Regions from separate parts of the Homo sapiens genome. Here region 1 is linked to region 2. Evidence: promoter capture Hi-C in human tissues and cell types (Jung and others, 2019). All regions are on one chromosome and are shown on one strand. Each heading gives the region's core, a stretch centred on a gene start or on the middle of the fragment in contact. The rest is flanking DNA. Distances are from core to core; before and after follow the strand shown.

Region 1 (3,484 bases), core at 426-2,925, 690 kb after region 2:
AAGGGGCCTTTTTCCAGAGGCTCTATTGAGACCAAAGGGAGAGGCAGTTTTTGTGATCTCACTGAGTGTATTGCTGCGATTTATCTCCAAGCCCAGCCCCCACAACATGAATACTTCAATACTGTTGTGAGGAGAGAACAAAGTAAAGACTGGAAGGGCTATTTCTCTAAATTTAAGACATTAGTGCAGTGGCAGCTTGGCCTGAATAGTTCTTTAACAGATTATGACCCCAAAGGAGGCAAGGCGATTACCCACCTCTTTTCCAAGAAAACACTGTAAAGTGCAGCTATCTCCTCTCTGGTGGGAGAGAGAAGTACCCATGGAGCATGGTGTTGGCTGGAAGATGCACTGGTAGAAAAGACAGGAGAGAGTGGCAGTAGCAGACACCAGGAGTGGATTTGTTACTAAGTATAGGTGAGCCATCTACTGGAGGATCCCCAGAAATATTTGTAGGGTGGTGGGGATTTTGTAGGAGCCTGAAACTTCTACATTAGCAGTTGAGTCTATGAAACATGAATTACAACTGCGTCTTAACACCAGACATGTGTATAAACTGGGAAGATAGGTTAATTCTGGTGCTTACAGTCAGTGAAGATGAATTAGCATTCAGAGCGCTTGAGGTTCCTCTTGATGTCTTTGACAAAAACTGCTTGGATCATACTTGAACTGAGACATTATAATGCAGAGGTGTTTTTTTGGGGGATTACTAATTGTCTATTATATTTTCAGCACTACCTGGATGCTATAGAGGATGCAAGAGAAATATGACTATTCCTGTCCTTAGGGTGTCATGGTCTAGTGGGGGAGATAACACAAGTACACAGGCAACTTAGAAACAAAGTAAAAGTGGGAGTTAGGAAGATGCAGATATTTGGTTCATTCTCATAACTGTAATTGCAGTTAGCCCAAGTTGGTGGACCTAAGCTGAATAATTTCCCTGGGCTAACCAGAAATTTTAAAAACCACAGCAGATATACAGCTCTCATTTAATCCATCTTCTAAATTCCTTCTTTCTTTACTTGGATTTTATGCTTAACTGTTACTCTGCGTAATCACTGTACAAGTTAAGACTTGCTGAGCTTAGTACTACTGTTGCTTACATTGACTCAGCTTCGCATTTACATGGCCAGTGCTTCAACATTTCTTTATGAGTATGCCAACTTCCTGATTTCACTGCCTTCTGAATCCTTTTGTTGGATAAATTAAATTTATAAACAATAACTTTTATATTATATACCATCGAATCTAAGAAACCATAGATAGTAAAATGTACCATTATTTTATGTACCACTAAGAAAAAAACCTGTCACTATACTTCCATATCACTTAGAATTTTAAATTGATACTTATTAAAGGAGATCTCTAAGGCTTACTTATACAGAGAATTTTATCATATATCCTCCTTATGCATAATAAAAAGAAACATATAAGCAAAATAAATTGCTTAAGATATTCCTAAAACTTCACATTCAGAGTCTAACTCTTCCAAGTCACTTTTTAACCAAGAGTTGTTGGTGCTTTTCCACATAATACCTCCTCCGTGCATCAGAAATATTGGTTATGTATCATTACTTCTTTTAAAACTTTTTATTGAAGAAAGAGTGCATATTACATGAATGTACAGCTGAACCAGTTATCTCAAGGTAAACATCCATTAAACCACAACCCAGTCAAGAAAGACAACATCATGAAACATCCAAGGAGCCCCCTTTGCTTCCTCTCAGGCACTATCATTGTTCCTCTACTGCCACTGCCATTAGTATGTCATCACAGATTAATATATAGAATAGATTGCTTCTTTGTGGCATTTATATAAATGGAATCATTCAGTATGCATTCCTTTGTGTCTGACATTTTTTGCTTAACATTAGGTTATGAGCTGTATTCTTGTTGTATGTAGCTTGGTTCATTCATTCTTATTGCTATAAAAGACTTTATTATACGAATATACATAATTTTATTTCTCCATTTTCCAGGTGATAGAGAATTGAGTTGTTTCCGTTTTATTTTGTTACAGATAATTCCACAATGAACAATCTTTTGCACGTCTCTTTGTAGTGTAGTGTGTGTATATATGCACACATATATAGGTATTATTCAAGAGTGGAAATCCTGTGTATTTTCAGCTTTAGTAAATAATGCCAACAGTTTTGCAAAGTGGTTAATAATGCCAACAGTTTTCCAAAGGGGTTGTGTCGATTTCCTGTTACAAGAGAGTATCAATTTAATTAAACGATCAGAATTCCTTCAAGTGTGTTATATCAAACGTCAATGTCCTGTGAAAACAATCTTGTTATTATTGTTTGACTATTTGGATTTAAATAGACATCTAGGTACCTGTTAAAAGAATGCTAAAAGTGTGAAATATGAGAATGGCCAGTAACTATTTTTAATTGATGACATATTCAGCTTGGGTTGATGGGTAACTGATCTACTGATGTTCTTATACTAATATAAAAATAATGAGTAGGAATGGGTCAGGTGTACACACACACACAGGATGGTATACAAGAAATAGCTTGAAGTTAAAGAGGATGAAAAGGATTAAAAGAAGCCTGATCTCTGGCTTTTAGCCGTAGGAAGTAAAATCCAAAGATGGCAAATTTGTTAATTTTCCTCTTTAGATGTATTTTATACACATAGTGTTTTGCCTACTGAATCAAAATCTTAGGTCATTTCACTTTTGTATTGACTAACATTGAAGCACAATCTAAAGACATCTCTGTGGCAATAGTAACTACTCCCAAAGCAATGTGTGTGCTGAGGAATGGGGCTGTGGGAGCCTCAGAGGAGGAACTGGAACAATAGAAATAATGTCTAGAGCTGTCATTCTCTAAGGTGACCCTTCTGCATGGTGGAAAATAATTTGCAAAATGATGGTTTAAGAGACGGCAGCAGTGCTTATCAGTATGTCTTTATTTGACACTGAGGGGAGGAACTTGCTTTTGCCAACTGAGTAGTTGCCAGTGATTTTTATTTTAAGTGTATTATATTTGCAGGTACTCTCTTTTCTTCCCCACCCTGCTCATAATTTTGAAATGCTTTTGGTCCTTTGGGTGAGATTAGTGAAGAAACATTCACAAGAGATCTGGGCATTTGAAGGAGGAAGGCAGCTGAACCTGCAGGATGATCCATTAACAACTGGAAAAATAGCCACCATCCAGGACAGAGAGGATGTTACAGGAATAATAGGCATCAGACGTTCCCTGTGGTTAAAGGTATTTCCTGTGAGAAAAAAAAAAAAAAGAAGCCTAGTAGTTTTGGAAGGATCCTCCCTAAAGGGGTGCAAAACTTTTCCTTGCAAGTTGGAAATAGAATGGGTAAAGCAATTTGTTCAAGAAATGGGTCTAAATGCCCTTTCATTTCTCTGTGCCTTATTTTCCTCAAGCAATCAGTAGTATAAGCAGGTGGAAAGAGCATGCATGTCTTTTGTTATTCACGAGAATTTAAGGTGGTATAATGTCACACGGACTCCTTGAAATTA
Region 2 (3,340 bases), core at 224-2,723:
TTTAGAAACAGACTTGATTACATGTCAAAATTTTAATACAATTACTAATAAAATACAAAAACCAACCGTTATTTTAAAATGTACTGCCCTGATATTCTGCTGCTGAGGTAGGTGGTGATATGTAGAAATTAATTTTTCTTTTAAAACGAAAAAATAATGCATTTATTAATATGCTTTTCCCAAAATTCGGGGAAAATTCCCAAATCGGAGAAAAAAATTTAACATCAGCATCTACTACACAAAGCATTAAAAACATTTTTCAGCAGTTTTGCTTAAGTATCTTAGGTCAGTGGTAGCATGTTAGCCAAAATGTAATCCAAAATGAATGAACAACAGTCAGCTGGTAGACACTGTATGTAATACAATACGGAAATATATTGGAAGTATTTCAAAATTCAACATTTGAATCCGTGAATGTCTAAATCAAGTACTCTAAATCAGGCGTCTACTTTTGAAACAATACTTCAAAATACGTGTTGGTGGCAAGACCGCCAGCCATCTGTAGGAAATCTTTTTAATGGTTCAAAATTCCTAGGTCTCAGAAGGGGCGACTGATTAGGCTAAATTTATATCTCCCGGCCCCGTAGTTGTCAGCCCAGGTAGCGAATTTAAAACACTGGGGGTGGATGAGTAGTTTGAAGTTCAGATCAAGGAGTGAAAAAGGCTGATGCTTAGAAGCGCCGGCTCTTCCCCATTCGCGCACTCGAGAGGTCACGGCGTAGTAAAGTTTGGTTTCACTAGCGGGCTTGGACGCTCGCGACCAAAGTCTCCCAAGAAAAGCCGACACCGCGGTCGGGAGCGCCCGGAAGCTCAGCAGGACACGTTTCCACTGCAGGGAGGAGGGTGTCTGTGGCGGTTCTGGCGTGGAGCCCCTTCCCCCCCCCCCGTAGGACCCTGCACCCGGACGGGGACAGGCTTCGCCAGCTAAGGCGGCGGGAGACGCGTAGGCCACAAGGAGGAAATGGGACAGAGTGCGACAGAGAGGCGGCGGCGGCCCAGGGCCGGGCCGAGCCTCCCTCGCGGGGCAGCGAGAGGGAAAGGGGCCCTCCCGGCCGCAGCCTCCCCCACTTCGAGAGGTAGCTCCAACTTTCCTCCCAGCGCACGACGTCGCACGGGCCGCGCGAGATTCCGAAACTTTGTCAGCCCTCGCGTCGCCCTAGGCCCGCTCCAGCGCTCTGCGCCGGCCGCTAACCCTCGTCTCTCCCAGACAGCTGCCCAAGCCCATCCACCCCGCGGGTCGACCAGTGTTTACCTCAGACCGAGGTCGAGGCGCTCGGTCCGGCCGCGGCCCCACAGTAGGTTCCCAGGTCCCAGTCACTCCGCTGCCAAGTTCCCCAACATGGACTCCTTCGTCCGCTTTGTGGTGTTACAGGGTCTCTAGGACACTGACTCCGCTGGCTCGGTCCGGAGGCGGCGGCGAAGCAGGGAGCGACCCAGGTTGCGCTGCTCCGCGCGGCTTAAGCCACCGCTACTCCCCCTTCCCCCGCCTTGTCTAGCCTCCTCCCTCCCCTCCCCTCCCTGCGCGTCTCCCTCCTCCTCCCTTCCCTCGCTGTCGGCGCGCTAAGGTGACGACGGCGGCAGCCGGACTCGCCACATTCTGCTTACTCGCTCGCTCTGGCCCTGAGTGCATGTTCGTAGTACCCAGTTGGGCCGCAGGGGGGCGCTGGCAAACTGCTGTTTGAGACCGAGAAGCGTGGTGGGTGGAGTCACGTCACGCGGCCTGTGAGCGGGAGGAAGGGCAGCTGCGCTGGAGGGGCCTTCTGGGAAACGTCCTTCCAGCACCGCCCTTCGCCCACACTGCGGATGGTGCGCATGCGCAGCGCGTGGACTTTGGCCTCTGCCCTCCTTTGGCAGTTTTACAGGCTGCGTCGCGGAGGACAATGAAAGAGGCTTTAAGGGAACTGGACAGGAAGGATTTTGCGCAGGGTGTGCTCCTTATCTTTATGGTAATCTGATATTGAAAAGAGTGTCCGCATGTTTGCGGTGGATTGAGTGTTCACCTGGCTGCGCTGCCCACCTGAAATGCAGCCTGTGGAGTGAAGAGTCGGCAATTTGGAAGCCCACCTTTCCTCCTTTCTGGTGGGCATTTTTTTAGATGCCAGGGGGAGAGCTTTCCCGCCTGACTCCCCGAGCCTAGGGGCTTTCCCATGTCTTAACCCCACATCACAAAATTAAATTTGGGCCAGGTGCGCGGTGGCTCACGCCGGTAATCCCAGCGCTTTGGGAGGCCGAGGCTGGCGGATCGCTTGAGCTCAGCAGTTCGAGACCAGCTTGAGCGACGTATTAAGATCTCGTTTCTACAAAAAATAAAATTAACCGGCCGTGGTGGCGCGCACCTGCGGTCCCAGCTCCTCGGGAAGATGAGGTGGGAGAATCGCTTGAACCCGGGAGGCGGAGGTTGCAGTGAGCCGAGATCGTTCCACTGCACTCCAGCCTGGGCGACAGAGCGAGACCCTGTCTCAAACAACAACAAAAACTTTATCATTATTTACTTAAAAGGCCTCCGCGTTGTGGTTAGATAGTGACGTGTGTGCCATCCTCCACTTTTTCCCCCGGCGGGTTGTTAAATGTTTTGTTTTACCTCGGAGGTATTTTGACTTTTTCAAAGTCACTGATTATTTAACCTCCTAGTTTCTCTTCTCGTCGACTGCAGCAAGCTTCCGGTTGCTCTGCCTGCCCTCAGTGTCCCCCATCTACCAGCTGACCTTCCAGTCCTCCCACCCACGCCCTTGTCCTGCTTGCGGCTCCCGCAGGACTAAGCTCTGCTCCCCGCGCGCGGCTCACCCAGGTCCCAGTCGCTTTCAGCCGCGCGCTCACACGTTTTCCTGTCGCCTGCCCCCGTTCTGTTCGCGCGTGCTGCGCTCTCCAGCCACCCTGACGCCTGCCCGGGATGAGTTTCCTCCCCACTTTGCCGCGGCCCCGCCGACCGACCGCTTCACTGCCGCCTTCCTGCATTCTCGCAGACTACGTTGCGGCGTCCCCTGCTCCCGCCCTGAGGACGTCGCTTTTCTGGCACTTTCATCCTATGCATTCTGTTGAGTCTGCTCACTGTCTCACACTGTGAGGATTGGGACAGTGTCTTATCACTTTCATAACAGCGTCTGGCACTTGCTGAAGGAACACATGAATGGCGGTCTTGTCGCTGTCAAAGTCTTTGGAGTTTTTCAGTGTACTGTTTTTGATATGGGGTTTGGGAATTTAGGTGGCTTTACTGTATTTGGGATATTTGAGGGGAAAATGAGCTAGAGGCGTTAAAATGCTTTCTTCTGATGGAACAACAAAATTCTTATGAAGGACCTTTCCCTGTCAAAATCAGAGCAAATAGTAAAGGATATATACT

The links. Contacts are between HindIII fragments. The study calls those that stand out against the background at their distance.
Region 1: a fragment that was not itself captured here is called in contact with the fragment with the promoter of SCAF11 in region 2 in 1 of the 25 tissues and cell types used here (lymphoblastoid cells).

The regions. Positions count from the first base shown.
Region 1 is chr12:46,677,553-46,681,036 of GRCh38, forward strand. No RefSeq gene overlaps it. Among named protein-coding and RNA genes, the nearest start is that of SLC38A4, 150 kb to the right of the region's middle. The HindIII fragment of the contact is 4,963 bases long and covers 1-3,484 here.
Region 2 is chr12:45,989,101-45,992,440 of GRCh38, forward strand. SCAF11 (SR-related CTD associated factor 11) reads right to left here and starts at 1,474. Exons shown (of 15, transcript NM_004719.3): 1 at 1,253-1,474. RefSeq lists silencers at 548-617, 1,018-1,117, 1,458-1,507 and enhancers at 768-817, 1,178-1,387, 1,196-1,909, 1,628-1,827, 1,838-1,907 and 1 more. The HindIII fragment of the contact is 22,524 bases long and covers 1-3,340 here.